Linked DNA regions of Homo sapiens: regions 1, 3, 4, 5, 6 and 7 are each linked to region 2. Evidence: promoter capture Hi-C in 16 types of primary human blood cells and fetal thymus (Javierre and others, 2016). All regions are on one chromosome and are shown on one strand. Each heading gives the region's core, a stretch centred on a gene start or on the middle of the fragment in contact. The rest is flanking DNA. Distances are from core to core; before and after follow the strand shown.

Region 1 (4,306 bases), core at 1,590-4,089, 1.3 Mb before region 2:
CTAGTATATACACATATGATTCTAATTTTCTTCCCATGTTTTAAGGCTTTTATAGTAATATTACACAAATGGTCTGCCTAACAGCCAATCATTTCCAAGATAAAAATGGGCCAAGAGACAAATGACAGGCAATTATTAAGCCTTTTAAGGAGAAACTGTTAAGCCTAGAAGAATATTGATACAAACTGACTTTCTGCACAGTGGACTCAACAAAGCTAACATAATTCACACCAGAGATTCTCTATGGGACCATAAATTAATCAGATTGAAAAGATGGCAACCCAGAAACACAATAAATTGTTCTATGGCATAGTAAGGCACCCTCCACATTCTTATTTTCAATGGCACAATAAGACACATACACACACACCTGACAAAGAATGAATAATTTTGGAAAAAGCTGCCATGTTTTCAGTTTAATCTAAAGACAGAGAGAGAAAGAGGAGGAGGAGGAGGATCCTATATTCACTCCTAACTGCAAGTTTGGAAGAGGTATGAGGAATTTGGGAGTGAGGCAAAGAGGCCACAATGTAAGGGAGAATTGAAATACAACTCGAAAGCCTGGCATCCATGAGGTGAGAGGAGAGCAGGAGATGCCAGAGTTACCCATTACTGACTTGGCTTACTTTACAGAACACAGGAAACTGTTGCTTCTAAGAAAATATCTATTTCATCATAAAAGAATTACAGCTCTTTTGTACATATGAATTTAGCCTGTTTTAATTTTGCCTGGCATTTTGGCTTTGCAAATCTTTAGGTATGAGTGCTAAAGTGTTATTCCAACCATTTCACTCTTTCCCAGTGAATGTTAGAACAATCACCTTTCGGTTAATAAACATGCAGTTTTTTACAACTACTATCACAAGTAACAGTTTAGTGTGTAGAAAGAATCAATGGTAAATTTTGGTGTTTCCAGTAGCTCAATATCTCATTTATCCTTTAGGTATCTGGCAAGCTGTCTTTCCCTTTTCTGGTCACCACTCCTCTGGGGATGTAGCCAAGTACAAAATTGCACATTTCTCCTCCCACAAGTGTCTCAGCTCCCACAGAAAACAAAATCTACATCAAGCATGTTTAAGATGATCTACATGTGAAGTAGAAAGGTTAACACACAAGAGGAGTAACAGACTCATTTATTTATTTATTTTTACCTTCAAGGAGTTTAAATACAAACACAGAGAGAAAACTGAAAATAAGCATGATTCTAGAATTTGTATTATTGTTATATATATATTTTTTAAGTAGATAAGCATAAAACTAAGGAATTGCTCAGATGACCAAGTCTGGAGCAAAAACATCTGACACAGGAAAGTGAGAAAATAAAATGGGGGCCTTGAGTAGAAAAATTTCAATGGGTTAATTTCTGCTGGCGTTCAACATGTTATGCCATAGCAAACAAATAAGAATCATGCTGGGTCTCAATTTATCAGATTCCTTTAATTTACTAAGACTGCATATTAAACTAAATTGTTAGCAGCTGGTTGACTACCTCAACCTAACTCAACTCCTGGGAGCAATTACAGAGCTTCTCAAAATCTGTCCCTGTGTGCATCAAATTGATGTTGGAAAGAAAAAGATACCTCTTTCTAAAGTACTTTATTTCAGCCTTTCAAATTCACCTTCTGAAACCTAGGTGACATTCCTTCTAAACACTGTATACGGTATTGCTTAAGACAAGGAAAGTTTTCCCCCAAAACTATTTGTGCTCCCTTCACTCTGGTAGAATTTTTGGTAAGTTCTTTGGCCTATGCCCACCATATACTAGGCCGCCCTTGCTCACAGAAGGCCACAGCAAACCCCTTCTGCAAGCCCACGATGGAATCGTAAATCTTTACAACTTATTGAAGTCTTCCAGATTTTTAAATATGCCCATGATCCAGACTTTTTGCTTGCATGTTTAAATGGTTGCCTGATGGCTTGCAACAAGAAGTAGAAAGGCATTTTTCTTAAAATAAGCAAACAACCATGGCAAATGAGGTCATATTCCCAAGCTTGAATAATAAATATTGCTAAAATCTACAACCTGAAACATATTTTAAGAATTAGACATAGATTTGGGTTTTTTCTTTCTTTTTCAGGAAGGGGTCTCCCTTGCTGCCAATAAAAATTGCTTTGTGTTGTAAAATTTGGGTTCAGCTTGTCTCCTCCTTATATAAGCCCAGTTGAATAGACTGCTGAGGGAAAATCAAAGTTTAAGAGCCTGGCTTTTCCCGTTTGGCAACTTTCATTTCCTGATAATATCGGATAATTAACAAATTGTGTGTTTTAATGCCCTGTCTCTTGAAGCGCATTTGGGAAAAATACTTCTTGTGCCCTCTGAGTAATGGCTTAAATGGAAGAACATGCTCAAAAGAATGCTTTTTCTCAATGCATGAAACACACTCAGCATTTATTATTTTAATTGCTACACATCATGTGTATACTCGTTCGTGTAATTATATACATATTTAAAGGGCAAGAGGAAAAGATTATTTTAGGACTCTATAATTCATTATGAGCAAGGCATTGAAAATTTCTAACTCAAGATGAAAATTCATAAAAATTCTTTGGCAAAAACACCTTAGTATTCTCAATACGGTAACTGACTTTTTTTTTTTTGCGTTATGAAATAACTAGATACTACCGTGCGTTGCTTTTGGATAAAAGGGGAATGCTGTTTCTTAGCCTTTCTGTCTCTTTACTAAATGGATAATTCAGGACTGGGAAATGCAGCTCTAAGTTTGTTGTTTACGAAAAACACATGCTAATGTAACAGCGTATGAGGAATTAAAGAGAAAATGTCAAACGCGCCTTGACATCCAAAATGCATTTAGCTGTTGGCTTTTACTACAGGGCCTTTCACTCTCCAGCCGACCCCCTCCAAGACCAAGTGTTTTTGCGTGTTGGGCTAAAAATAGCCAGCCAAGCCTAACAACTAGCTTCTGATTGGCTCAGAGCAAAGGCCACTCAGCCAATAAGAGCTTCTGGGAACAAAAGCAATTCTTTTGTGTGAGATACTCAACCCACGTCAAAACAGCTTCAGGCTGTAGAAATGATTTTGGTTGAGCTTTAACAAGGTAATAATGCATTTCAGCCCTCTGAAAGGTTTGAAGCGGAACAAAGGGAGTAGTGAAATCTACAAAACAAATGGAGCGCTCAAGGCTTTCATGGGATGAATCATCCGGGTGCCTGAGCTACAAACAGTTGCAAGCTCAGAAAAGAAAAAGCGCTAGGATTTTCTTTCTTTCTTCCTGAGATTTTAACTTATTTTTCAAGCGAAAAACAAAACAAAACAAAAACAAAAAACTAACGAAAAGCCATCAAAGGCGTTGTATCTTGACTATGCCCAAATTTGTTATTATGCTTATTTGATGATGAATAAAAAGCAATTCTTCCACGGTTCCCTTAAATCTCACAAAGAGAAAACAAATGTATGTGTAGTAGATAGTAGGTAGTAAAGCTCCCGAAACTTTGGGCTTTCGTTTTTGGGCACCAAAAGCAGCCCATGTTTTCAGAGTAAAGGCAGGTCTTGATTAATGCTGTGATAGTTCTCAAGGTAAGCAAATTACAGCAGCACTTGATTGGAGAAAAGCATTGAAGTTTTGGAGGTTTTGGCCACTTTCAAGGCATTGTGCCTCTAGGGGTCGCTGTTGGACAGCGGACGAACCTCTTCAGGGCATCCTTCCCCCTTTAATAGTCACTAAAAGAAGAAGCTTAGTAGGCGCCTTTCAGGTAGAACAAAAGGGAGTGGGGAGTCAGTGTTTGAGACCCTTGAGCATGGTTTATGGTCATCACTATGGGACAAAGCATCCCATAACAATGCAGATTACTTTATATGGAAATGAAATGCCATAAAGGACAAAATGTTGCTACAGTAACCACTGAAAATGTTACATAACACATAGGAGCTCATAGGCCATTTCATGGCCTTAAACTGGCTTTATTGTATGGAAAATAATTAAAAGATGATGTGGTGCTTTATAGGCTTCCTTTTTAGGAAACAGAAGGACCCACACTTTAACCTCTCACATAGGAAACCTGTATAGGTTACCAAGTCCTGAAGTTGGCAGAGAAATACAGGTCACAAACAGACTGTTCCCATGTTCTCCTCCCAGAAAACTATGGATTCAATGTAACTTTTTCCCTTGAATATAGCTTTTATGATAAACAATTAGTAAATGAATCCTTAATTAAGCTTTATTCCTGGTGTGGCACAACAAGACCTAAGAAAATCAAACATCTCAGTAAAACTGAAACATATTTTTATTATCTGATTGGTTATAATCAAGAAGCAATATTTCTGTAACAGTTACCTGTCTAAGGAAAT
Region 2 (4,110 bases), core at 1,560-4,059:
AGGCTAAGGCAAGAGGACCACTTGAGCCCAGGAGTTTGAGATCAGCTTGATATAGCAAGACCTAATCCCAATAAAATTATATATATATAATGTTCTATTGTATTGTGTGTGTATATATATATTTCACACTTCAATAGAACATACACAATCTCACAAAGAAGTAAAAAAAAATTTAAGAGTATGGTACCCAGCAAAGAGTAAATATTCTATTGACCTCCTATTTCAACTATTAATGACTGAAATCATGCAAAAATGTCTACAGACCTTTAAAGGAAAATACCATGTTGCAAGAATTCCATGCCCTGCACATGTGATAGCAAAATAAAGTCATTTTGGGGTATGAAACAGCTCAGAATATGTACTACCTAGAAACTTTTCCTAAATAAATACCTCAGAAATATTGAAAGATATCAAGATGCATTGATATTAATCTGATAGTCACCTTTTTTTGTTTTGGTTTGTTTTTGAGAGACAGGATCTTTCTCTGTCACCCAGACTGCAGTACAGTGGCATGATCACGGCTCACTGCAACCTCAGCCCAAGCATTCCTCCCACTTCAGCCTCCCAAGTAGCTGGGACTACAGGTGCCCAACACCACACCCAACTAATTTTTGTATTTTTTGTGGAGACGGGGTTTCAGCATGTTGCCCAGGCTGGTCCCAAACTCCTGGGCTCAATCAGTCTGCCCACCTTGGCCTTCCAAAGTGCTGGGATTACAGGCATCAGCCACTGTGCCCAGCTATATTAATCATTGTAAATATGGTACAACTGAATTTTTGTAGCCCTAAAACCTAAAAGGAAGCTCAAATAAATCTCATACCTCTTTTCAACAACTAGAAAGAAAATATCTTTTAGGAATTTGCCAATTCAAAGCCATAAAGTAAGCAAACCAGGATGTCATCTTTTAGCATAGACATACTTTTTAAGGTATACTTTTTATTGAAGCAAAGCATACATAAACGTAAAACTACACACAGGCAAAAAATGCTGAGGCGAGCTGCTCCCTCTGCGATATTGGAGAGCACCTCCATGTGTCATCTGAGAAAGGGCCACAGTGAGGTTGCCCCAGGTTCTTAAAGGAAAAGCTGACTCTGGGGTGTCCCTTCCCCACCCAAAATGCCTCCCTGTTGCCATCTCCTTGACAAATCAGATGGAGGTGGCACATTTTTTTCCGTGATAATCTTTTGTGACCTTTCTATAAGACTCTTAATTTCCTTCTTGAAGTTACAACCAGAGGTTGGAAGTTTTTGCATTGGGATCAAGTATTCCATTATCATTATCCCCTAGGAGAGACAGCTTTACAATCCCATGTGCGTGAGGGGATTGGTAGAAAAGAGTATGACCTTCCTTCCACAAACTAAAAGCTAAAAGACTTTATTCATTTTTTTCCTTCCCAAATTGAAGCAATTCACTTCTAGACATCCTTGGCAGGAGCTCAGAACTGTTTATGCAGGCTCCATGCAGGCAAAATATTTTTTGATATCCTGCTTTTGGTTGAGTCATGGTAATGTTGGCAATGGTGGTGAGGGCAGGAGATCAAGTCATTTTTCAAAGTTCTAAGTAAATGATGTTCTAGTAAGATCAATATGAGAGAATTAAAGACTAATATAAAGTTTATCACAAGGCCAACATCTATAAGTTAGACCTTTTTTTCTTTTCCTCTAAGGGCAGTGGTTCTCAAATTTTAACCCATGTAAGAATCACCTGGAAGTCTTGTTAAACACAGACTTCTGGCTGGGCACAGTGGCTCACACCTGTAATCCCAGCACTTTGGGAGGCCGAAGTGGGTGGACCACCTGAGGTCAGGAGTTCGGACAGCCTGGCCAATATGGTGAAACCCCGTCTGTACTAAAAATACAAAAGTTAGCCGGGCCCTGGTGGTGTGCACCTGTAATCTCAGCTACACAGGAAGCTGAGGTAGGAGAATCGCTTGAACCCAGGAGGTGGAGGTTGCAGTGAGCTGAGATCGTGCCACTGCACTCCAGCCTGAGTGACAGAGTGAGACCCTGTCTCAAAAAAAAACCACGGACTTCTGACCCCATCCCAGAGTTCCAGGGGTTGGAGAGCATGGAGGGGGAAGATTTTTCCTTTCTAACAAGTTCTCAAGTCATAGTGATACTGCTGGTCCAGGGACCCTACTTTAAGAACTACCGACCTCAGGGAACCTTCACAGTAAGTATCTGTAATGAGTCCAATCAATGAAAACTTCAGTGAATTAGACTTCATTAGAATTACTTCAACTTTGTTTTGGGAAAGTCTATAGACATTTTTGTTTAATGCTGCATACATATGCATTATCTCCACCTAGGCATCAAATAAATATTCTTTGGGGTACTGATCTAATGAGAATACTGGTAGATATAAATGCTCTTCCATTTGCATTTTAATTATTTGAAAACTAATGTTCACAAATTCACTCCCTGGTGCTCTAATCATTTCCTCTACTATTCAATGCTTATCAAAGCAAGTCATTAATAAAATAGATCAACACAAAATGTTTTATGATGTGAAGAAAGTAGAGTCCCAAAGAATGCATCTCACAACCTTAGAGAAAATAAATGAAATAGAAACCTAGAACTGCTTCACTGAACTATGAGTGATGATTTGTTGAATGCCTCAAGAGGAAGTAAAAAGTTACATTTGCATCATTTCTGTATTTGATCAGCCGTTGTTTACCTGACTTGTTCTTAGGCTGCCTTAGATTCTGAGCTGGCTTCCCTTTAGGCTTTTTCATAAACAAATAACTGGAAATGTCTCTAAGGAGGGGAGAGACCAGTTCCTCATTGCAGCTGGTAGCAAGGTTGCTTTCACTCAGCCAGGAGGACGCATTGTTACAGGTGTGGAACTTGTTGCTCCGAGCCCTCGCCTGGCAGCTCACTCTGGATCTGCGGGTTCTGAGGAGCCTCGGGACCCACCTGGGTGCAGTTGCCTTCAGGGACAGACCATCTTACAGGTATTAAAGGCAACATTCAGCTGCTTTCTGGGTTTCTCTCTTGCACTTTCCTTTTGTCCTATTGCTATCAGTTTCGCTTGTTTTGCTGATCTCTCCAGGTCTCATTAGAATTAGTGAATCATTAACCTGCAATGGTTTCATTTCTAGTACAGTGAGATGGCTTCCCCAACAGTGTGGGTGGGTGTTTGCTGGATTCTCAAAGCTTGGAAGGTCAAAGGTTGGTGAATTTTCTTTATGGTGACCATGTATTAATTTCCTCTTTTAAACATAAAGAAGAGTTAGCATGAATGGATTGACTTGTTAACTTTTGATTCTACCAGATCCACTGGGTGTAGTCATTTAGGGAAAGCTTCCCAGGAGCCTTAGCCATTATCTCATTTAATTTCTGCAACAGGCCTGTGAGGGAGGTTCTTTGATGTCCTCTTGGTAAATGCTGCATGGCAGTTGGCAGAGGAGAAGTGGCTTGTCCTAGGTCACACAGCCAATTGGCGGTGATACTGGAAGAGAAACCAGACCCATTTCTTCTGGTGCTTGAGCTCTTCCTGCCTTTCTGCAAACCACCTCCCTAAGCCCTGCTGTTTTTAAAGTTTCTCCATTTCCGCAGTGCATCATGTCGGCAGTTACTATTGCCTTGGTTCCAATATTTAAGACAGTGGCTAATAAATAATTCTTACCGATGTGAATCCTATTGGCCATAAATAACTTCCTACCAGCAGCTACACCCCTGTGTCTGAACGACTACAAAGGAAACCCAAAGCCGTATCCTAACCCCTCAAAAGAGGAGAGGAAAAGGCCAGAAGGACAGAGGGGAAACCCAAAGACTAAGAAATCTGATCTAACTATTATGCAAGTGCCTATGCAAATATACTGAATTCCTTTAACATTGTTGCTGCCTAGAACTTGGACAGTCTTCTAAAGGAGAAAAATAATAGAACGGCCCTGATTGTATGTATGTGTGAAAGTACCTATTGATTCAAAATTAGCTGGGTGGGGTGGTAAGCATCCATAGCCCCAACTACTCAGGAGCACTGCAGCATGAGGATTCTGTGAGGCTAGGAGTTTGAGGTTACAGTGCGATATGATCACACCTCTGCACTCAGCCTGGGCGACAGAGCCAGACTCCATCTCTAAAAAGAAAAAAAAAAAGAAAGAAAGTA
Region 3 (4,334 bases), core at 1,506-4,005, 1.3 Mb before region 2:
GATAATGATGAGAAGGAGAGGCTACAGACTTCAGGAAGAGCAGCAAAAGTGTCTTTGAAGAAGAGCTGGACAATGTATACCATATGTGCTCCCTATCGGTTAGGGTTCCACCAGAGAAACAGAAGCAGTGTGACACACACACACACACACACATACACACACACACACAAACAATTATATTGTACAATTATTTCTCACCAAAAAGAAAATAAATGTATTTCAATTTTAGACACAAAATCTAATTGCAAACACACATGTGCATATATAGTGTGTGTGAGTGAGTGTGTGTCTGTGTTTATTTCAAGTAATTGGCTTATCATGGTGGTTAGCTAGGCAAATCCTCAATAGGACAGGCTGGAAAATCTCAGGCAGGAGCTGAGGCTGTAGGACACACATTGAATTTCTTTTTTTTACAGGAAAACTTCAGTTCTTTTAAAACTTTTCAACTAATTGGATGTGGCCCATCCAAATTATCAAGATTAATCTCCTTTACTTACAGTCAAGGATTGTATATGTTAATCACATTTACAAAATACCTATACAGCAACACCAAGATTAGTGTTTAATTGAATAACTGAGTATGGTAGCCAATCCAAGTTGACTCATAAAATTGTTCATCACATGCTCTAAGATGTTAATCCCTTAACCATAAATTTCTTAAAGCATACTTTTGAGGATCTGGATGTATAATCAGCTTTTCCAATAGAAATCTCTCCCAACACTTTGGTAACATCTTTCATATCAAAATCACAGTGAATAAGGATTTTAAAATGAAAGACATTTTGTCTTCCTGAAATGTTGTAAGATTCCACACCATGGCAGCTGAGCAGGCTGACCTCTAGGCCATTTATTGTGGTTAAATAGGCAAAAAATAGTAGAAAAGATTTTATTGCTCTAAAACACCCAGCAGGCAGCACAACTATCAAATATCTTTACATACTTATAAGGAAAAACTATATTTCCTTCCGTGTTACCTCACATTTTTGATTCTAGATAAATGATTTAATATTCATTTTATATTAAATACCTAACTTTTCTATATTAAAACTAAATTGAAAACTTATTTTGCAAGTCAATAGTAAGCAAAATGTGAGTCAAAAAGCCCAAGTTAAAAACCACTGTATAAAGTTTGTTAAATACATGTTAAATGAACACAAAATATAAACTGTTATCCCTCTTCATTTATCAAGCATAAATGCTCTTGTGTTTTATTTTCATCACAGAAAAATATAATATTAAATTAATGGTGGCTTGTTTCCTCCCTCCCTCCTGCCTTGGTTCTTAAATGCCGAATAATAGTGTCTACTCTCTTGGTTTTTTAAATGTGGGCCTTGGTGTGTCTTGCCAACTTTTCCCTTGGGAGTTAGGGAGCATCACTTCTGCCAGCACTCCATAAAGATGTGAGAAACCATATTGATCAAGAAAGGCAGAATGGCCCATGGACTCATTGCAATTCATTATTGATTAGGCCACTCTGTCATGTTAACTGGAAACTAATGCTTTCACTTGAGTTTGAAGTCACCCTCCTTTCAGGTGGAGGGAGTTTGGTTTAACCCAACTGTTTTTCTAAGTGCATATCTAGCTCCAAGTCTAACCACAATGTTCTGCCTGTATCCTTAATGCAGAGTACTTCTAGTCATCTTGAACAGGCCAGCTGTAACCCATAATTGGTACTTTGAGGTCCAGTGTTTCCCTCTGACCACACAATGGAAGGTTGGAACAGTTTTGTAATTCAGAGTTATGCTTTCATCAAAGGTGATTTTGCTTTCTTAACACCATTTTCACCCCTGCTCTCTCTCCTAAAATTATTTTTAGTACACATCATAAACCAAAAGTAATCTCATTAGCTGCTCTGAGGAAAATATCTCTCATGTGAAGTAATATGATGCTGAAATTTCAGGATCATTGTAACTGTTACAAAGATGTGTAGTTCAGTAAAGATGATAAATTATGAATTAATATTACATTGAATAACAAAATGTAATCTAATTTTACAGAAAAAATTGGAAACATGGTAGGAGAATAAAATAGATGAGTAAACTGAGGAATGGGAAGATACCAGAATTACTCAGATTCCCCCTGCTAGGCATGGCAATTTTTAATGCCCCATTACTTGTTATTATATCACCAGGTTGGTGTTTTGAAAAGTATTTCTAAATGTTTCTGCAAAACTCCCCGTGGATAAGATTTTTAAGACAAGTATGTTTGATAAAACCATATATCATAACCCCTGCCAAATAATACATAATGCACATTAGTATATTAAAGACTTCACAACAAAGAATCTTGAGTTCATGTTGCCCAAACTTATTTGAATGTCTTTCTTATTATATTTTTATTATTGTTGTATGTATTTTTTAGGCAATTAATAACCTGAGGATGTAGTATTCTCTGGAACACATTTTAGGCAATATTATGCCAGCTTTTACAGCTGGTGTAAAGGAGTTGGGGGCAAAACCAGGAAAATATTGCCCATGGAATTAAATGGGGAAAAGAAGTTTCAAAGAAGGGATAGACAGTAGTGATTCACAGAAAGTAAAAAAGAGAAAGGGTGGCCAGGCGTGGTGGCTCACACTTGTAATCCCAGCACTTTGAGAGGCAGAGGCGGGTGGATCACATGAGGGCAGGAGTTCGTGACCAGCCTGGCCAACATGGCGAAACCCCGCCTCTACTAAAAATACAAAAATTAGCCAGGAGTGGTGGTGTGTGCTTGTAATCCCAGCTACTTGGTAGGCTGAGGCAGAAGAATTACTTGAACCCAGGAGGCGGATGTTACAATGAGCTGAGATCGAGCCACTACACTCCAACCTGGGCGACAGAGTGAGACTCCATCTCAAAAAAAAAAAAAAAAAAAAAAAAAAAAAAAAAATCCCAGAAGGCTTAAAAAAAAAAAAATTGAAAGGCTGATTTTAAAATTTATAGAAAATGCAAATGACCTAGATTTCCAAGACAATTTTGAAAAATAACAAAACTGAAGAAATAACACTACCTGACTTCTAGATTTTATAAAGGCATTGTAATAAAGGTAGTGCAGCATTGGTGCCATGATAGAAGACAAATAAATCAATAAGTCAATATTCCAGAGACAGAGGAAAACTTGAATCTTTATATTGAGAAACCTTCCTGAGTATTCAGCACAATATATACTTAAGTAAATTTACAATTTTGTTTTCTTTCTAATATCTGGATGTTGAACCTAATTATTAGGAATTAGGGTGGGGATGTCCTAAAATTTTGTAATTTTTGCATAAATATATATTGTGCTACAATAATTGTTGTATCCAGATATGACATCTGGGAGTTCTAAATTCCTAAATTTTTTCTATAAATCCTGTCAGAAAACAGGATTATTTAAAATCAGAAGAAAACAAAGTTTAAAAAACTTTTCTTTCAAGACTGCAAACCAAAATTATAAAATAATGTTTAGAGAAATGAAAATATGCTAAGCACCACCCCACCCCAAAAAGGGGAAGTTTGATAAACAATTTCATGCTGGAGGTTATCAATTTCAGTAAAAGAGTAAAAGCCACCCTAGCTGCAAAATGCTAAAATGGAAATTTAGAGAAAAGAGGTGGCCAGAAATGGTCATCATAGGGTGAGAGACAAGAAGCCAACTACCTTAAAATACAAACGTCTTGGACTAACCATAATGTGTTTCATCTGTGATACTTTGTTTTACTCAGCTGTTGCGTGACCAAAATTAGAATGAATATTGCTTCTTTCTCTGTGAGAAAATACAACCAAGTAGGTTGCCGCTTCCTGGTCTGGATTGGGGTAAGTGGTCCCTTCCTCTGGGTGCCTTGGGTCCTGCTTGTTCATGCTGTAAGACAGCAGAGAGAGTGGGCAGAATGGGATGGCAGCTCAGGGAGTCCTGCATCCTGCCTTTATGACAGTAGATAACAGCCAAGAGAAACACACCTTTGCTCCATGCACAGGCTTAATGTGCACCACAAGGATACTGGGCTTAGCTCTGCTTTGAAGTCAGGATCTAGCTGGTTTCTTTGTTGCTGTTTTTTAAGGCACCACATAGTTTATGAATTGTGTGCAATGTTCAAGGTAATCTATTTAGCACACGTGTTTGGTATTCTCATAATCCCTAATTGCTGGCATTTCCTAGAACTTGGATCACTCTTCATCAGGCATCAGGATTTTTCAAAACACAATTGTTGAGAAAGATCTGAACATCTTTTTATTATGACAGATAGTACTGTTTGCACAGAAATCACATGACACTGGCTCATAGCATAAATTGTGTTCACAAAGAAAAATATTTATTTGTTCAAAAGAGACTCCATGGAGTTCCTTATTAAACAGTGTGTTGTGAGCTGAAACCC
Region 4 (4,288 bases), core at 878-3,377, 1.3 Mb before region 2:
CATGTGTCAACCTTACTGGGCTAAGGGATGCACAGACAGCTAATAATACATCATTTCTGGGTGTGTCTGTGAAGGTGTTTGCAGAAGAGATTAGCATTTGGATTGTTTGACTGAGTGGGGAAGATGCCCTCATTAACGTGGATGGGAATCCTTTAGTCCACTGAGAGATAGAACAAAAAGGTGGAGGAAGGGCAAATTTGCTCTCTCTGCTTGCTAGGAAATTCATCTTCCCCTGCCCTTGGACATCAGTGCTTCTGATTTTTGAGCCTTTGGATTGGCTTCCCTGGTTCTCTAGCCTTCAGGTTTGGACTGGAACTTCGCCACTAGCTTTCCCAGGCCTGCAGCTTGCAGCTGGCAGATTGTAGGACTTCTCAATTTCCATAACTGTGAAAGGCAATCTCTTGTAATAAAATCTCTCTCTTCATATATATATACACACACACACACACACACACACATATACACACACACACACACACACACACACACACATATACACACACACACACAATTGGGTCGGTTTCTCTGGATAATCCTAACATAAAATATGTATAAATTATATATGTGCATAAAATTATACATATATTCTACAGCTGTTAGGATAAAGGCTAACTTTCTGTAACAAAGAGATCCCAAAACATCTCAAGGTGGATGGTTGATGCTGATGAGGCTCTTCTGTTTCAAAAAGTAATTCAGGCAATCTGTCACTGACAAAGTAATTCCATCTCCTTGTTTTTCTGTGTTCTAGAGAGTTACCATTCTTGCATTGTTGAAGCTGGGTCATCCCTGTCATTGTTCCAGCCGGAAATAGTAAAGAAAGTAGAGGCAGAAGAGAGCATGCTTTTTATTTTAATGCTAAAGCTTAGAAGTGCTATTCATCTCTTCACTTAGTTATTAAACATGATCATATGAGTACATCTACCTGTAAAGGAAGTTGATATATGTAGCCCCTAATGGCATGGCTATGTGCTCAGGTCAGCTTATATGGCTACAGAAAAAGGAGAGAATGGCTTTCAGGAGAAGTTTATCAACCTGCCACTTTTATTGCATATATAATGAAATATAAAAGTGGATACAGCAAAAATCCAAAGAATAGCAACAACAACAACCACAACAAACTTGGTTTCTCAATCAGGGCCATTTTGCCCAAGGAACATTTGCTAATGTCTGGATATACTTTGGGTTGGTTCTACTGGCTTCTAGTTGCATAGAGACCAAAGACACTGTTCATCATCCTACAATACACAGGAGGACAGCCACAAAAACTACCTGGCTCAAAATGGCAATAATGTCAAATTGAGAAAATCTACTTTATATTTTTCATATTTTCAAAATATTTCATGTCATTTGGAAAAAATGACATAAAAGTTGTGTGAGGAGAACATGTTAGAGTTATTTATATTGGCTCACCTGTGTCACCCCTGCTTGACTGTAAGCAACTTTATATTAGAAATCTTATTTTGTTCTTGTGTTTATTACAGGGCAATTATTTTATTTTATTTTGTTTCATTTTATTTTATTTTTTTTGACAGAGTTTTGCTCTGTTACCCAGGCTGGAGTGCAGTGTTGTGATCTCAGCTCACTGCAACCTCCGTCTCCTGGGTTCAAGTGATTCTCATTCCTCAGTCTCCCAAGTAATTGGGGTTACAATAGCTAGGATTACAGGCGCCTGCCACCACACCCAGCTAATTTTTGTATTTTTAGTAGAGACGAGGATTCACCATGTGGGCCAGACTGGTCTTGAACTCCTGACCTCAGCTGATCTGCCTGCCTCGGCCTCTCAAAGTGCTGGGATTACAGGTGTGAGCCACCACACATGGTCTATTTCATGTTTCTGAATAAGTAATAATGAGCATGGAATATCTTTTTGGTGCCTTTTTCTATACTAAACTTTGTGGAAATTGCTTCGAAACACATGAACCCTGTTCTCAACGTCCTTGTCATTGCTTTTATTATTTCTCCGTCCTTGTCCTCCCAGATATCAGTAATAGTGCTACTCATTTATCTCACATTTGCTGAGATATCTGTATTTGAATGTTACTTCCAACACCACAGCCACATCACTTCAAAAATCCAACATATAAAAAGGAACGAGATCATGTCCTTTGCAGCAACATGGATGGAGCTGAAGGCCATAGTTCTAAACAAACTAGCACAGGAAAAGAAAAACAAATACTGCCTGTTCTCACTTATAAGTGGGAGTTAAACCTTGAGTACACATGGATACAAAGAAGAGAACAACAGACACTAGGACTACTTGAGGGTGGAGGATGGGGGGAGTGAGGATCGAAAAACTACTGATGGGGTACTATGCTCATTACCTGGGTGAAAAAATAATCTGTACACCAAATCTCTGCGACATGCAATTTACTCATGTAACAAACATAAACATGTATCACTTGAATCTCAAATAAAATTTAGAAAGAATTAAAAAAAAAAAAGGGAAGTCCAACCTAGAGACACATAGCCTTGCCCGTCACATTAAGAAGTGCCTCCCTTCACTTACTTTTCCATGAAAGAGTAAGCAAGCCAAAGCAGGAAGCAGTTCTAAATCATTAACTTCTTAACAACTCAGCTCAGATGGAAACAAAATTAAGATTTACAGGACCAGAAAGGAGGTGGTTGTTATTTACCTATTCAAAATGGGAAATGAAAGAAAATCCCAGGCTTTCCAAGATCCTGTGGCATAACCGGTATACTCAAAAGGCAAAGAAGAATGAATGAGCGAAATGAGTATTTGATGAATTTTCATACGAACTTTTGACCTTCTCAAGGATGGCAAAGTTGCTTTTACATCCCATGATCCAGCCTTGCCAACAATTTCTATTTTTTCTTTGTCTTCTGTCTCTCTCTCCATCTGTCTCTGTCAGTCTCTTTCTGTCAGTCTCTTTCTTTCTCTCTCCCCCTTTCCTCCTTCTCTCCCTTTTCTCATGTTTCCTCCTTCTCTCACTTTTCAAACTGTAGCAGCTTTCATTTTTAAGCTATCAATTCAACATTGCCCCTATCTGATCTAGTGACCTGTTGGGAAACTTTCTTAATCTATGTCAGAGATTATGAAATATGAAGGCTCATCTCTCTCTCTCTCTCTCTCTCTCTCTCTCTCTCTCTCTCTCAATCTTCATGTGCCCTCTAGCTTACACAGAAACAAAAGTTTGATTTTTCGGCATTGATTCAGTGTTCTCCATTGGGGGAAAAAAGTATTATGATCATTATCAACAGCACCATAAGGAATCACATGAAAGGCAACACTGTGCATGGAGCTTATTGAATTGCAAACAGCTTTCTCAGAAATCAAGGCCGCCCCAATGATGCAAATCAGATGCTTACATAATGCTGTTTCCTTAGAGGGTGACAAAGGAGTGATGGGATTTAGATGCCCCTTTGTGGTGTGGCAAAGCTTTTCTGTCTTCTTGCTTCAAGCAGAATATTTTGACATATTAACTGGATCAGCACAAAATGTATCTAAAGCTATTGAATGCACATTTTTTTTTTGATGGAATGTATACTAAACCTCTTTCCCAGGGATTTGAAGCAGCTGGAAGCTGCTATGACATTTCTGCCCTTTTTCTCCTCTTGTCTTTCCATATCCCTTCCAACCCTTTCCATAATCTATAGATATGCATATTTGGAATAACAGTGCTGGTCACAGAATGAATGAAAAAATAATCCATCTCTTTCTTACTGGATTTCATAATTTTGCATGTCATAATATTAGTTGTATACACATGTGCTACAGTGTTTTGTTTTTTTTTTTACAGATGGCACATTGAATTGGGACCATTGATCCAGTAAGTCATATTGTATAAAGCCAGATTCCAGTTTGACATGTGCTATGCATCACCATACATCCTTAAGAAAAATGCTTGCTGTGTATACACGTGTCTTCCCAGCAGCTGATTTCTGAATATGGGCATTGATGCATGGCATGTATTAGAGACTGGAATATATCTCCTACTGTGCAATCCAAATGAAGCTAAGTGTATTTTCTACAAGATTACCCTGCCTTCCTTTCTTTTCTCCTTTATATTTTCTTTGCTATCTCCTCCCTACTTTCTTTCTTACCTCCCCCATAATTCATTCCTTTAATATTTTCCTCTTTGAATCATGGTCTTTTTTTCTTTTCTATTAGTCTAGAGATGCCTTGAAAATATCATGATATCTTTGTGTAATATCTGAGCCTCATTGTCTGGTTATCAAAGAGAGTCGGTAAATGCTTATTAAATAAACTATTGATCCTATTTTTTAGTAGTTACATGCATATTTATCTAAGACGGCATAAGGCTGATGT
Region 5 (4,167 bases), core at 855-3,354, 1.3 Mb before region 2:
AGGGGATGACCCTATTTACTGGGGGACATGGGATACCTAAAATCTTAACAGAAATGGCAGGTCTCTTATTTTTCAAAGGTTTTATCTCACTCTGAGCCCATGTCTACCAAGGCTTTGAGCTTACTACCTATTTCTTCCTGGATCAGTTTGAGTGCAATGGAGCAAGGCTATGTTCTGAGGGATGTCCTCATAGTTTTGATCTCTTTGGAGTATGACAGACGGCAGGAGACTTAACATAGCTAAGAGACAAAAATGTAAATTTATAGTTGAAGATTCCATGTGAATGAAAACTTTAAAAAAATATTTTTTGCTGATGGCATAGAAAAGAATAAAACTCTCTAGATATGAAACACTCTTCAGTGCCCTCCACTCATGCCACCCATATATGGTCATTGCAACCTCCTAATTTCCAGCAGGTAAGCACTGCCATCTATGCTCAATGTCTTCAGGTCTCTATCATCTCCATTGCTATTAACAAGTTAAGCTATGTGACAATCTCTCCTACTGTCAGCCTTTCAGAAAAGAGCCATGACAGAAAATATTAGTGTATCTGGTATCTGTCTCACCAGCACTTTCCTTATACCTTTTGTGGACTATGCATCCACTGGGCTTTCATGGAGTATATTCCTCTGCTGGGTTTCCTGGCATCACAAATTGTATACTCACCCTCCTGAGCCTTTTACTCCTCCTTCTTTTACTCCTTTTATGCCTCTGCTACCTTCTCTAGTAGTTCAGACATTTCAACTCACCAAGTCTTTCTCCAGGTTTCTGAGGCCTACTCTAGCATCCAATCTTTCCCATGCTCTATGGTCTTTGTCAGGGCATTAAATCCCGTCTTTCAAGAGAAGTCCCCCAAGTTTAAAAAGAAAAAAAATAAACAGAAAACTTTAGCATTTCTACTCATAAGTGCTAGCCCTGGTGAGCAAGTACTCTGTTTTAGTCTATTTTGTGCTGTTATAACAGAATAACTGAGACTGGGTAATTTACAGGAAACATATTTCATACATTTTTGGAGGCTAGGAAGTTCAAGATCGAGGGCTTACCTCTGGTGATGGTCTTCTTCCTGTGTCATCCCATGGAGAAGGCAGAAGGGCAAGAGAGCACATGCAAAACAGAGGGAAGGAAGTAAAATTCATCTTTTTATCAGAAACTCATTCCTGCAATAATGGTACTAATGCATTAATGAGGACAGAGTCTTGTTAACAAGACTACTGAAAAAGAAGTATCAGATTTAAAGAGGCTTTATTTCCACAAGCGGTTTGTGAACGGGGGATACACAGCCTTCAATACAAAACAAAGATGTGTTCTACCAGAACAAAGACAGGGGTTGTCCTTTATAGAAAAAGTTCCTGCTGAGGTTCCCACTATGCTATGCTGTGCAAATGAGGGATGCAAGCTTGCTTAGTTTCAGCTGGTTGAGGTTAAGTTTCACTGTGGGTCACAGGCTATTGGTTAGATCAAAGTGATGGTAACCATTGGCTCAGGAGTATAAACAGAAATAGGCAGATATGAGAATCTCACAGTTATACCAATATGTGGTTTTTCCAAGAATGAAGAGTGCATGTGTAATGTCTGGTCAGCAAATGGAACTCAGCTCCCGTTTGAATTTAGGCCCAGTTAGCCACTCAGGTTCCATCTTAAAGGATTGGCTCTTTCAGGGTTCACAGCCCTCATGATCTAACTACTTTTTAAAGTTCTCACCTCTCAACACTGTTGCACTGGGACTTAAGTTTCCAACATATGAATTTTGAAGGATACATTCAAACCACGGCATACTCAAACATCCAATCTCATGGATACTATTCTGAATCCTGAAAGCACATACTAGCTAATTATTGAACTTAATGAAATGATTATCTCTTTTCTTACTTATCAGTCCCAGTATGTTTTTATCCCTCAGCTGGGTTATGCTGGAATTTAGCCATGATTTTTAGCCTAGAAGCCTAGAGAAAAAGTGGGAGTAATTCCTGATAAACATACCATTTATCTTATGTGAAAGTGGCCTCTGAAGTATCTTCTTGCATGAGAAAATGTCTAGCTCTTCATAGAGAATGGTGGGTCAATTCTTTAGGCTCTCAAGTTGTAGATCCTTGGGGAAATTTACCCAGATGTCCTCTTCCAATATTTTAATGCCTCAAGTTTTCCCAAGCAGATCTCTGACCTTAGCCTAAGAAAATTCCTCTATGAGCATCCAATCATCTTTGCAGCTCAGTGGCCCTAAACAGCAGATCCTGAATTTCCTCTCCAGCTATGGCCACTCTCTCTCTTTGCAAAAGATAAAAACACTTTATAGGCTGCCCAAGATGCCTTCTGGCTTTTACACTTACATTTGGGCTTTTGTTAACAATGCTCAATTTTTCATCATCCCACAAATGCAACGTATTCAATTTTCATTGTCCCACAAATGCAACTTAGTAATAATTAGTCAATTTCATTACCTTTCTATGTTTCTCACGCTGGATTTTTCAAATGCATGAATATTGTCCTGGTTAGGACATTCACCTGCAACATGACATTCTCCAAAGTCACCATTGATGAAATTTTTACCAATTGAACTACTGTCTTGTGCCAAAAAATATTCATATCCCACATCCACTTGAAAGGAATCCTTATTTTCTGGTTGGTGGCAAATGATCCACTTGCATAACTCCAACTTAATCACTGATATCACAGATTGTGTCCAGTATCAATTAATGTCACTTGGTTTTTCTAGAAAGGGAAAGCCAAGATTGAGTTAGAAGTGCAAAAAAAAAATTATTGGAGAATAATACCTTTTAAACATGTAAAGGCAAAGAAGGCAGGAACATCCAAAGGAAGCTTTCACACTGTAGTAAAGGCCTGGCTCCTATGAAAGGTGAGAAGGAAGCCAGAAGATTGGATAGGATGAGCCTCACACAGCACTGCAGCTCTGACAAAATCCCAGCCAACATGATGGGGATCTCCTTTAGGAGGACTGCTCTTTGAGGAGTCCTGTGCCTGAAAATTGAGGTTCTGTTGTACCCCTGCCATACTCATTGGCTGAAAAATGTCTGGGTATCATAAGGTCTTGGTTCAAATTTGAGGCATACTTGCACCTGGAGGCTGTTATCTAATTTGTCTTCCTTTTGACAGGTTTTCTCTTGAAGGTAGATCTGAGCCAAATACCTCCATGACTGCCCTAAAGACGTCTGACTGATAAGAGTCATGGCAATAATTTGTTCAAACAGCTAAACCTTTCAGCAAAATACAAAATAACTCCAAAAGTATGAAATTAAAGAAACCATCAATACCCATTTTGTAATAAACTTCTCACAATTTTTTGCTTTTCTCACTCTTCCTCTATTATTATCTTTTTATCCTTTATCTTATTATCTTCCAGTTTTATCTTATTTTGACAAAAAAGTTTCTTGCATCTTTATATTTTCTTGAAATAAAGCTTGTCATTATATTTCTTTTCTTTTCATAGCTGTGATATTGTTTTTATGTAAAATCTATGTTTCTATTTATTTTTTCTAATGAGAAAAACCTAATTGCCAGTATTAAGAAAGGTTTCTAACACATACACAAACACACACGCATGTACACATTTAACTTTTGCAAACACATGCACAACTTCTAACTTCTGCAAATGAATTATGAGGAATAAAATACATATACTCTTTGATGTCTTACGTCAAGAAGCTCACATTCAGCTAATCATAGTGCAGAATTAGGTTCCCTTTTCTCACCCTGGCTCCCTTCTATCTCCTGCTATCACAAAAATAACATTACGCTTGTGGAAGATAAAGACAGCATCCTCTTTCCAGTTTCCTTTTACTTCCTGCTAAGAGAGATTAGTTTATCAGGATGTGAGGATGTTGATCTTCACGAAAGCTACTCTGTTGCCTAATAAGGTAAAGTTTTCTCATCCATATTACTAGCTGGCTTCCTGCTTCTCCATAATAATAAATAATTTTGTGCGGCATGAAAAAAATGTTTTTTCAATTGTTACTAGAGCAAGCATTCCAATCAGTAAGTACAGTACATGACAAGGAGAATATCTCATCAAAATTCCTACCTATACATTTTATCTTAAGTATAAATCTAAAGTAATCTCATCATAACATTTGAAAACACATTGAATCAAAATTTCTTAAAGATTTTCAAGAAGGGAATCTCAAGTATGTGTTTTTTCTTTTCAAATGCACA
Region 6 (4,092 bases), core at 1,327-3,826, 1.2 Mb before region 2:
AAATGGATGTTACATTATTCAGGATTAAGGGATACATTTCCAAAGCACCAAGCAAGATGGATGCTTCAGAATCCCTTCATTGGCTCCAAAAGCTGTTCATTGTTTGCCTTTTCATTGCTTTGTCATTGCCACAGTAAAGGATACCTTTGGTGTACGATGCTGTTTGCAGGGCAATTTTTGCCACAAAAAAAGGATTAATTTTTTCTGCCATTTTCCATTTTCATCACCAATTTCCAACTGTCATGAAAGTGAGCTCTGTTTTTACACGACATTCCACTCTTATTACCGTCTTCGTCCCAAGAATGAAAGTCTGTAATGAGAGCAAAGCCATGGCTGGCATCTGAGGGCTGTTATAATTCACTCTCATGACAAAGATAGTAATGAGAAATGACAGTGGCACAAAATGAAGCCTTTCCGATCCCAGCCCCTTGGATGATAATGAAAACAGAAGATGGCACCAACTTTATTCATCTTCATGACACCTATTGTGACAGGATTGAAAGCTGCAGCAACAAACATATCCGAGATTACAATCTCCCAGTCTCATTCACATATTGCGTTTTTTTAAAAAAACTCCATAACACTATTTCTCCTGGGAATCCAGTTTTGGGGGGTGCTTTCAGAGGTTGAAGAATTTACTGTCCACAACTGAAAGTATGTCAGAGAGGTAGAAGTGTTTCCAGCTTTGAAAAGTATGTGATTTATTATTATTATTATTATTATTATTATTATAAAATCAGCTTAGCAATGCCTGTAAAAGAAATGATGAGGAGGAGGCAGAGAATATGGAAACAAAGCCAATTTTTGAAGTTCTAATTCAATTCTCTGACTCTCCAGAAAAAAAAATGCAAATTTAAGGTGTAAAATATCCAGCTAACACAATGAATACAGGATCTTCCTTGCACTTGCATGTTTTCCCTCTCCACTCCCCTCCCTTTCCCGCTCTCCCTCTCCTCATCCCTCCCTTCCCTTTCCCCCCTCTTTTAGCTATGTTTATATCTTCGTAAAATCTGAAAGGGAATTTGTAGCTAAGTTGATCCAATCTCTTCATTTTATAAATAAAAAAAGAAGGCTTCAGATCCTGGCTAACACGATGAAACTCCGTCTCTACTAAAAATACAAAACAAAATTAGCCAGCCTGGTGGCGAGCGCCTGTAGTCCGAGCTACTCCGGAGGCTGAGGCAGGAGAATGGCGTGAACCCAGGAGGCGGAGTTTGCAGTGAGCCAAGATTGCGCCACTGCACTCCAGCCTGGGCGACAGAGCGAGACTCTGTCTCAAAAAAAAAAAAAAAAAAAAAAAAGGCTTCAGGAGGTGAAGTCACTTACTCACAGTAACCCAGACAGTGTCGGGATGTCTCATTCCCAATGTTCAATCTCATCCTTCTAAAATATAAGTTGAAATGCCGAAGACAAAGACAGCATGGAATATATGTATTACATTCAATTTCTTTGCAGCCTCTCTATAGAGGGAATGTGGCATTCTCTCAAGAAATTTATTTTGGAGTCACAAGACTCCTGGCTCTGTGATCTCCTACCTCTGTGCCCTTTGGTCACTCCTCTTTCTGCATTTCAGTGTTCTTCAACGCAAAACAAGGATAACTAGCATACTAAACAGTCTATCTTCAATAGAGTAAATAAAGTCGCCATTTATTCTTTCTTCTCCCTGCTGACTTCAAATATGACTTTGCTCTCTTTGTGTGGGCTTACTTAGGGCTCATAGAGACCAAAAGTAGAAAAAGCTTTTCTTTCCTGTTCTTGATCTGCTCTGAAAATCTGTTTCTTTTACCTCCTCCTCACACTGCTTCTAACTATTCTGTGGTCAGGAGCTAAGAAAGGGTGCAAAGTAAAGTGGCAAAAGCCCCTCCTCTGTTGCTGGGTATCTCTGCGCTGCACCATTTCATGATGTAGGTAATAGACCCTCTGGGAGACGTTTCACAACTCACCCTTCTCTCCTGGCAAAAAAAGGAAAATGGTCCATTTTTCCTCTTGGCAGGCATCTGAGTCCTTTCAAAAATATTCAAGCCTGCCTAATTTACTAGGTCTTCAGGTGGTCCATGTGAAAACGCATACCAGCTGGCCCTGACAAACTTCAGGAGTGAGGCCAATTCATTGCATTCTTTTTCTACGGGCTGCCATTGAGACCTACTCTAGGCAACCTCCAGCATTCAGAACTCTTCAGGCAAGACACAAGCATCATTCTCTGCCTCTGCAAACTCCAGAAGATAACTCCAAGCTGGAGATATCTGTTCTATATCAACATGAGCAGACTTAGGCATTTTTGTTGCTGCCAAGCATCAAGCAAGGAATTAACAACATGTTAGTGAAACATTAATCTCCCCTTTTAACACAAATTCTGATCTCTCTGGGTGGTTATTGGGAGACAACCTTACCAGACTAGAGAGAAAAGGGAATGTGATAGTCTTATATATACCTACCAGATTTGCTCATCAACTATGCTCTTCAACAACCCTCTAACCTACATTTACATTGGCTACTGGGAGGTATGATGACTGAACTAGTCTGGCCATTTGAGGATAGATCTGCTGCTTCTTTTTAGATAAGTAACAATACTTCTTCGTTGTCTCAACTTTCAGATGTTAAATGAAATTTTGAAACCCAGCAAAAGTCTTACTGCATTTTCTACAGTCCTCTCATGGTTGTTGTAATAAGCATACCATTTTCATATTGTGGTAACTTATTTTGTCTTTCTATTAAATGCTGGTATAACATCTCTTGTGTTATGGGATAACTAAAGCATAGAAAGAGGAAATGTCTTCTTCCAATAAAGGAAATCAGTGATCTGGTTAAATCAAGTATTTAAAATAATATGAAGTAAGAATATGTGCTACAGCACACTGCAGTGCTCAAACAATTAGAACATCCAGGGATCCTAGACTGTCTAGAGCTTTCTATGCCTGGTAATTTGTGTGGCATTATAAAACTCAACTACAGTCTATCTGATAGATCCTCTAAATTGAAGGTCCAGTATACCTTCAACCCGATCCTAGAGTTAGCCATAGCTCTTGTTCTTGGGAAATACCTCTCGTCCTCTGGGATGATGTACACAATAAAGCATTCATGGTTTTAGTGGCAGCCAGAGGCCCACCAGGCCTGTGCGACAATGGTACTTGGACTGAATAGTTTGCAGTCCCCTCAAGATATTGTACTAAGAGCTCTTCCAAATGTTTTGTAAGTTCTTTGCCCTATTCATAGGCTTTTGGGTGTTTATTTTCACAACACCATTCTCCTCTTGCACTTTCCTTTGAACATTTTCAGACAAATGAAGACAACATTCTATTAAACAACAATAGTAATTCTGATGTGAAAAATGCCCCGGATTTGTAGGTATGCCTCATTCACTAATTAATATAACATCCACCCTGGCAACTAATATTTTGAGACTTAACATGTACAAAGCTTTGTGTTCTGTGACCCTCATTTGTGACAAGTTGCTTCATGTCTTCAGGTTTTTGTTGATTTATTTGTAATATGACAGAAACTGGAATTGCATTTGCAGTGTCTTCTGAGGGCCTCTTGTATTCTGTTGAGATGCTCAAGAGCCTACATGGATAAAGATGTAATGGGACACGTGAATTGCATGGGGAAACTCAGTAGCCTCTTACCCAGTCAGTGAAGGAGCTCAGCTTATATCATTTTATGTATAGGGCTTCTACACAAGATTGATTTTTGAAAAGGGAATTCCATTCCAAAACCACAGGATTGGAATTTCCTTCTGATTCTATTTATCCATGATTCTATGAAATAGCATATGGATTAAAAAACTCCTGAACACCAGAATTTAATTCACATATTATTCATGACATGGGGTGAGATTGGAGTCATATGAAATTGCTCTGATGCTTGATATCACCTACTCAATGTTATTTAGTGAAGAAATAATATTAAAAAACAAACCGCCTCTTTCCATACTCATCCCAGACAAGGAAAAACTGGATTTTAAATACATATTATGTGGTTCAAAGTAACCTCAGAAATTGGTATAAACTTGTCAAGTGGGCAAAGAAATATGCTTCAGCCCTTATCACAAGAAGACAAAGAAAGAAGTCAGCCATGATGTAACTAAATATCTGT
Region 7 (4,014 bases), core at 247-2,746, 1.2 Mb before region 2:
GTTTTGGGGTAGGAAGAGAAAGCATTTCAGGTAGAAAAGAAAAGCAAATGAGATATGTAGGGCTTATCAAATGGTCTGCTTTGATTGGAGCAGAAGATGTGTGTTAGGACAAAGTGTGAAATAAGCACAGAAAGGTAGGTTTTGCTGTATGTTGTGCATGACTTTCAAAGCTATGATGAAGAACTTCAGTTTTTACTTCATGCCAGTTGTTTTCTTATCTTCCTGCAGAGATTTATTCTGTATGTTAATTTAAGTATTTTTTAATAAATGTTTCCTGTTTTTCTAATGATTTAAATTACCTCAAATTCATTTTGATGGTAGATAGATATAAACACTATAATGTATAAATGTTGCTAAGAAAAAAAACTCTAATAACTTTCATTTAAAAATATCATTCAAAACAGTTATCTGATGTAGGATAGAAAGGACATAAAATGACAACTCAGTTTGTCTAGAGCATCTGCAAGTCACTGTATAATGTATTTTTCCATGTTTTATTTAATCAATGAAAATCTGATTAATAAGCATTTTTATCTTAATTGTATAGAAGATATTCTAAAGTTCAGAAAAATTAAATGGCTTTCCCAGAGATACAGAGCTCGTAAGTGTTCAAATTCAGATTGGAACACAAAACTCTCTGACCCTGAAGCTCATTTTTTCCCTATGACATTGTGCCATAACCAATATAACAACTAAGTTATCAATTCACTCTGATTTTTACATTTTTGCTGATTATCCTGACACATTTCTGCTTTTATCCATAAGAGTATTTAAATATGGATATAATTCGTCAACAGATTTAATGGAATGGTACAGAATGGAATGGTACAGAATGGAAACTTGGATGATGGTCGTATTTACTATTTTATTTTTTGAAACAGCTGAGATCATTTATTTTGAGAACAGAAGCTGCCTAGGTATGTAGTGAGGCTGTTTTGTCATTGTCTCTGCAGATGTTGATTGACAATAGTTGTCCTGAAAGTAGCCACACAGACCAGTCTTCTTGGCGAAGACATCATAGCAATTAACAAATTCTAGACCTTAGAGGAACACACCTAGAAAGACATGAGAATTCAAGGTTCTTTGGAATTCAGAAGATGGTTGTTTCTCCTGTTAAAGCTCTATTCTGTTCAACAAGGCAAAGTAACATCAATGAAATTTGTTTATATAAACCCCATAACTATAAATTGAAAAAAAGAGCTAGTTTCTCTCAATGTAGTATATATGTCATGACTGAAAGACTTAATTCCTTTTCCTGTGCATGTATTTACATTTCAACATAGGGTGAAGCAAAATATAAGCTACAAAATGTGGAAGACTGAGGGACCCGACATCCCTCTGTCAATCTCCTGGTCAAACACCTTCAACAGCTACCAATTACTATGGAAGAAAGCTCAAGTCCTTACGGTGGTATTCGACATTCTCCACATTCTATTTCCATCTGCTCTTTCTAATATTCTTCTCATTACAATTTTTCATGTACCCAGCATACCACCTAAATGGAAATATTTGACATTTCCCCAAATAGTCCTGTGTCTTCTGGGTAATATAATGAAACTAGACAGGCTTGGGCCCCGCCCCCATGGAGCTTACAGTTCACCTTCCATTATATAAGCAGGTCTTGCTGGGCTTTACCAGCCTGTGAATATAAATGGGACCAGACTAGTAGCAATAATAGTCTGCTCCTGCTAAGTAGCAGACTCTTTAGCTTCCTTCAAAGTCTTTCTCGGTTCCATCTGAAGAGTCTCAGATGGTTCTCACTTAACACACAAATCCTCTTTTCTAGCATGTGGCACTGGCCACATTCTTTATCAGCACCCCTTCTTGACTGCCCCAAAGCTACAGATCAATCATAGGCCAAAACAGCATTGTATTTCCCAAAATCCTCTGTGGTTCACACAGAAACAGAAAAATGTCCCTGTTTCCCTCTGCGTGTCCAATTTCCCACCTAGGCATGAAAGTATGTAACTTGTGAACATGTATTGTAGGATCCTGCATTAAATCCAGCAACTTCCTTTCCTGCTCATAGCTCGTCTCAATGTAGCTGAAGTGATTCTCTTTTGATAGTAAGTACAGAAGATATTTTCATAAGAGACATTTCTGATACTGTTAGGGTAATATTAAATATAAGTATTCTTCTGAAAATTATTCTATGCTTTGGTTACCAGCAGTCTGCTCAGCCTTCAAATCTGTGTTCATGTGTCAGGAAAATTATTTTCTTTTTCTTGACTAATTTTAGAATAACTGTAGAACAAAAACTAGAAAGACTTCCCTGTAAGGAAAGGATTTAGTGGAAAATATATGCAGTCATTTGTGTATATTATACTCCATAATGTCAAATGGTCACTTATTGTTTGGAAAGTCAGTGGAGTCAGTCTTGGGGACCAGTCTCTGACAGACTCCAAGCTGCTCTTCCCGCTCTATCCTCCTTCATCTTCCCCTCAAACTGTGAGATCCTGCGTGGGGTCCTTTAGGCTCCTTCAGCCTCAACTCCTTGAGTCAAGTGGCAAAATATAGGTCCTGAGAATTCATCCTACCTGCTAAAGGAAGTCCGCACTGCAGCAGGAAGCAGAGACCAGGCCATAGCTTGGCCCCCTGTTTCGGTTTTTTACCTATGTAGCTTTTCATCCTTTTTAGTTTTAGAACCTTTAGAAAAAATAACCAGAACTAGGTTCCCTATAAATCCTAGGACTCCTTGCACATAGTATTCACTTGAAAAATGATTGTTGAATTGAATTTTTAGGGTCAAGTTATACCCACTAACCTCAATTTGTTCTAAATTAAATATTACCACATACACTTTATATCTAACCTTAAGTCACTTAGGAAGGAATATAATCTCATAAATAATTTCAAAATATAAAACTGATTGTTTTTGTTTCAAAATGAAATAGATTTTCCTGCTCTTTATTCAGAAGTATGATGTTGTGTAGACACTGCCTTGAAAGTAGTTGTAGAAAGTACCTGAATTATGTTACAAAGCCATCTGATAGAAAAACAATTATATTAGTGTTACTCACATGATATTTGACAAGGAATGCTTAAACCATTAGTTCCCTGGAGTACTTCTAAACTACTGTTGCTGGAGACAGAAAGGAAATATAACAGTGGCTATATTTTACACAATGAGGGATTCATTTCTGATGGGAACTTTTCAAGGGAAATTATACTTAAAACAGCATTCTCATCAGAAATAATAAACCTAATAGAGAATGCAGATAGCAAAGAAAACTGAGACTCAGAATTCTCAGAGAAAGAGAAAGCTTAAGTATCACAGTCTTTGCAACATTTCATAGAATGTATTGGAAGAGAGCAAAGCTTTCAGCAGAAATCAAAACATACAACTTTTGTATTTAGAGATGGTATTTTGACAGCAGGCATAAACAAAATCAGACTTAGTTAAGAGATACCGTACATCAAAAAGTAGACATCCTAGGAAATATGTAAGTTGGGACAAAGTAAGCTGTGATTCACAGGAAATTTCTCCCACCTTAAATGAAAATACCTGTAGCCATTCTGGACACCCACTTATCCTTATTGAAGAAAAAATAGAGAATGGTCTTGCGTAGCAATGATGTAGTTCAGAATAGTCCAAATTGTAAACTGCATATATTCCTTATTACAGTGTATGGACTCAGTTTTATTAATGAATGCTTTCTTTGCCTGCATAAAGTGCTAAGCTGACAAAGCCATCTGGTTATTATTATAAATACATAATGGACTGGTGGAACTATGAAAATTTCTAGAGTCAAAATTAGTGTGGCTGAAGTTATACAGTGCCCCTTAAAGAATTATGTCTGAATGAGGCCCTTTCTCTCTGAATGTAACACATTTTAAATTTTGACACTAAATATTCTTCACTTTACCCATAGGTGATCCCTCAGTACCTCCTTCAATAAAGTAGGTCAGCAAAGATCATTCTTCAAAGAGTCTGAAGAAGCTGATGTAAAATTATTACATAAAGCCAAAAGAAAAGAGTTATATAAGATGTAACCCAGAAGCAATGTGCTGTGG

The links. Contacts are between HindIII fragments. The CHiCAGO score rates a contact against its expected background, and 5 or more counts as called.
Region 1: a contact is called between a fragment that was not itself captured here and the fragment with the promoter of PLEKHG7 in region 2, in 11 of 17 cell types (M2 macrophages, total CD4 T cells, total B cells and 8 more). The highest score is 10.4, in M2 macrophages.
Region 3: a fragment that was not itself captured here is called in contact with the fragment with the promoter of PLEKHG7 in region 2 in 6 of 17 cell types (non-activated CD4 T cells, activated CD4 T cells, naive CD8 T cells and 3 more); the score reaches 12.8 in non-activated CD4 T cells.
Region 4: a contact is called between a fragment that was not itself captured here and the fragment with the promoter of PLEKHG7 in region 2, in 4 of 17 cell types (activated CD4 T cells, non-activated CD4 T cells, naive CD8 T cells and 1 more). The highest score is 10.2, in activated CD4 T cells.
Region 5: a contact is called between a fragment that was not itself captured here and the fragment with the promoter of PLEKHG7 in region 2, in 11 of 17 cell types (total CD4 T cells, non-activated CD4 T cells, naive CD4 T cells and 8 more). The highest score is 17.2, in total CD4 T cells.
Region 6: a fragment that was not itself captured here is called in contact with the fragment with the promoter of PLEKHG7 in region 2 in 4 of 17 cell types (activated CD4 T cells, non-activated CD4 T cells, naive CD8 T cells and 1 more); the score reaches 7.7 in activated CD4 T cells.
Region 7: a fragment that was not itself captured here is called in contact with the fragment with the promoter of PLEKHG7 in region 2 in 4 of 17 cell types (non-activated CD4 T cells, naive CD8 T cells, activated CD4 T cells and 1 more); the score reaches 7.4 in non-activated CD4 T cells.

Annotation. Positions count from the first base shown.
Region 1 is chr12:91,378,592-91,382,897 of GRCh38, forward strand. The region is part of intron 4 of LOC105369896 (a long non-coding RNA gene); the gene reads right to left. Among named protein-coding and RNA genes, the nearest start is that of LINC02823, 54 kb to the left of the region's middle. RefSeq lists enhancers at 2,301-3,134, 3,135-3,966. The HindIII fragment of the contact is 1,701 bases long and covers 1,990-3,690 here.
Region 2 is chr12:92,700,180-92,704,289 of GRCh38, forward strand. PLEKHG7 (pleckstrin homology and RhoGEF domain containing G7) reads left to right here and starts at 2,810. Exons shown (of 17, transcript NM_001377329.1): 1 at 2,810-2,953. RefSeq lists an enhancer at 2,951-3,010. The HindIII fragment of the contact is 11,169 bases long and covers 1-3,153 here.
Region 3 is chr12:91,418,353-91,422,686 of GRCh38, forward strand. All of the region lies in intron 2 of LOC105369896 (a long non-coding RNA gene), which reads right to left. Among named protein-coding and RNA genes, the nearest start is that of LINC02823, 94 kb to the left of the region's middle. The HindIII fragment of the contact is 8,988 bases long and covers 1-4,334 here.
Region 4 is chr12:91,438,878-91,443,165 of GRCh38, forward strand. All of the region lies in intron 2 of LOC105369896 (a long non-coding RNA gene), which reads right to left. Among named protein-coding and RNA genes, the nearest start is that of LINC02823, 110 kb to the left of the region's middle. The HindIII fragment of the contact is 2,536 bases long and covers 860-3,395 here.
Region 5 is chr12:91,396,671-91,400,837 of GRCh38, forward strand. It overlaps LOC105369896 (a long non-coding RNA gene), which reads right to left. Exons shown (of 9, transcript XR_001749251.2): 3 at 2,439-2,709; 4 at 1,044-2,167. Among named protein-coding and RNA genes, the nearest start is that of LINC02823, 72 kb to the left of the region's middle. The HindIII fragment of the contact is 1,421 bases long and covers 1,395-2,815 here.
Region 6 is chr12:91,455,275-91,459,366 of GRCh38, forward strand. The region is part of intron 2 of LOC105369896 (a long non-coding RNA gene); the gene reads right to left. Among named protein-coding and RNA genes, the nearest start is that of LINC02823, 130 kb to the left of the region's middle. The HindIII fragment of the contact is 1,678 bases long and covers 1,738-3,415 here.
Region 7 is chr12:91,478,185-91,482,198 of GRCh38, forward strand. The region is part of intron 2 of LOC105369896 (a long non-coding RNA gene); the gene reads right to left. Among named protein-coding and RNA genes, the nearest start is that of LINC02823, 150 kb to the left of the region's middle. The HindIII fragment of the contact is 3,530 bases long and covers 1-3,261 here.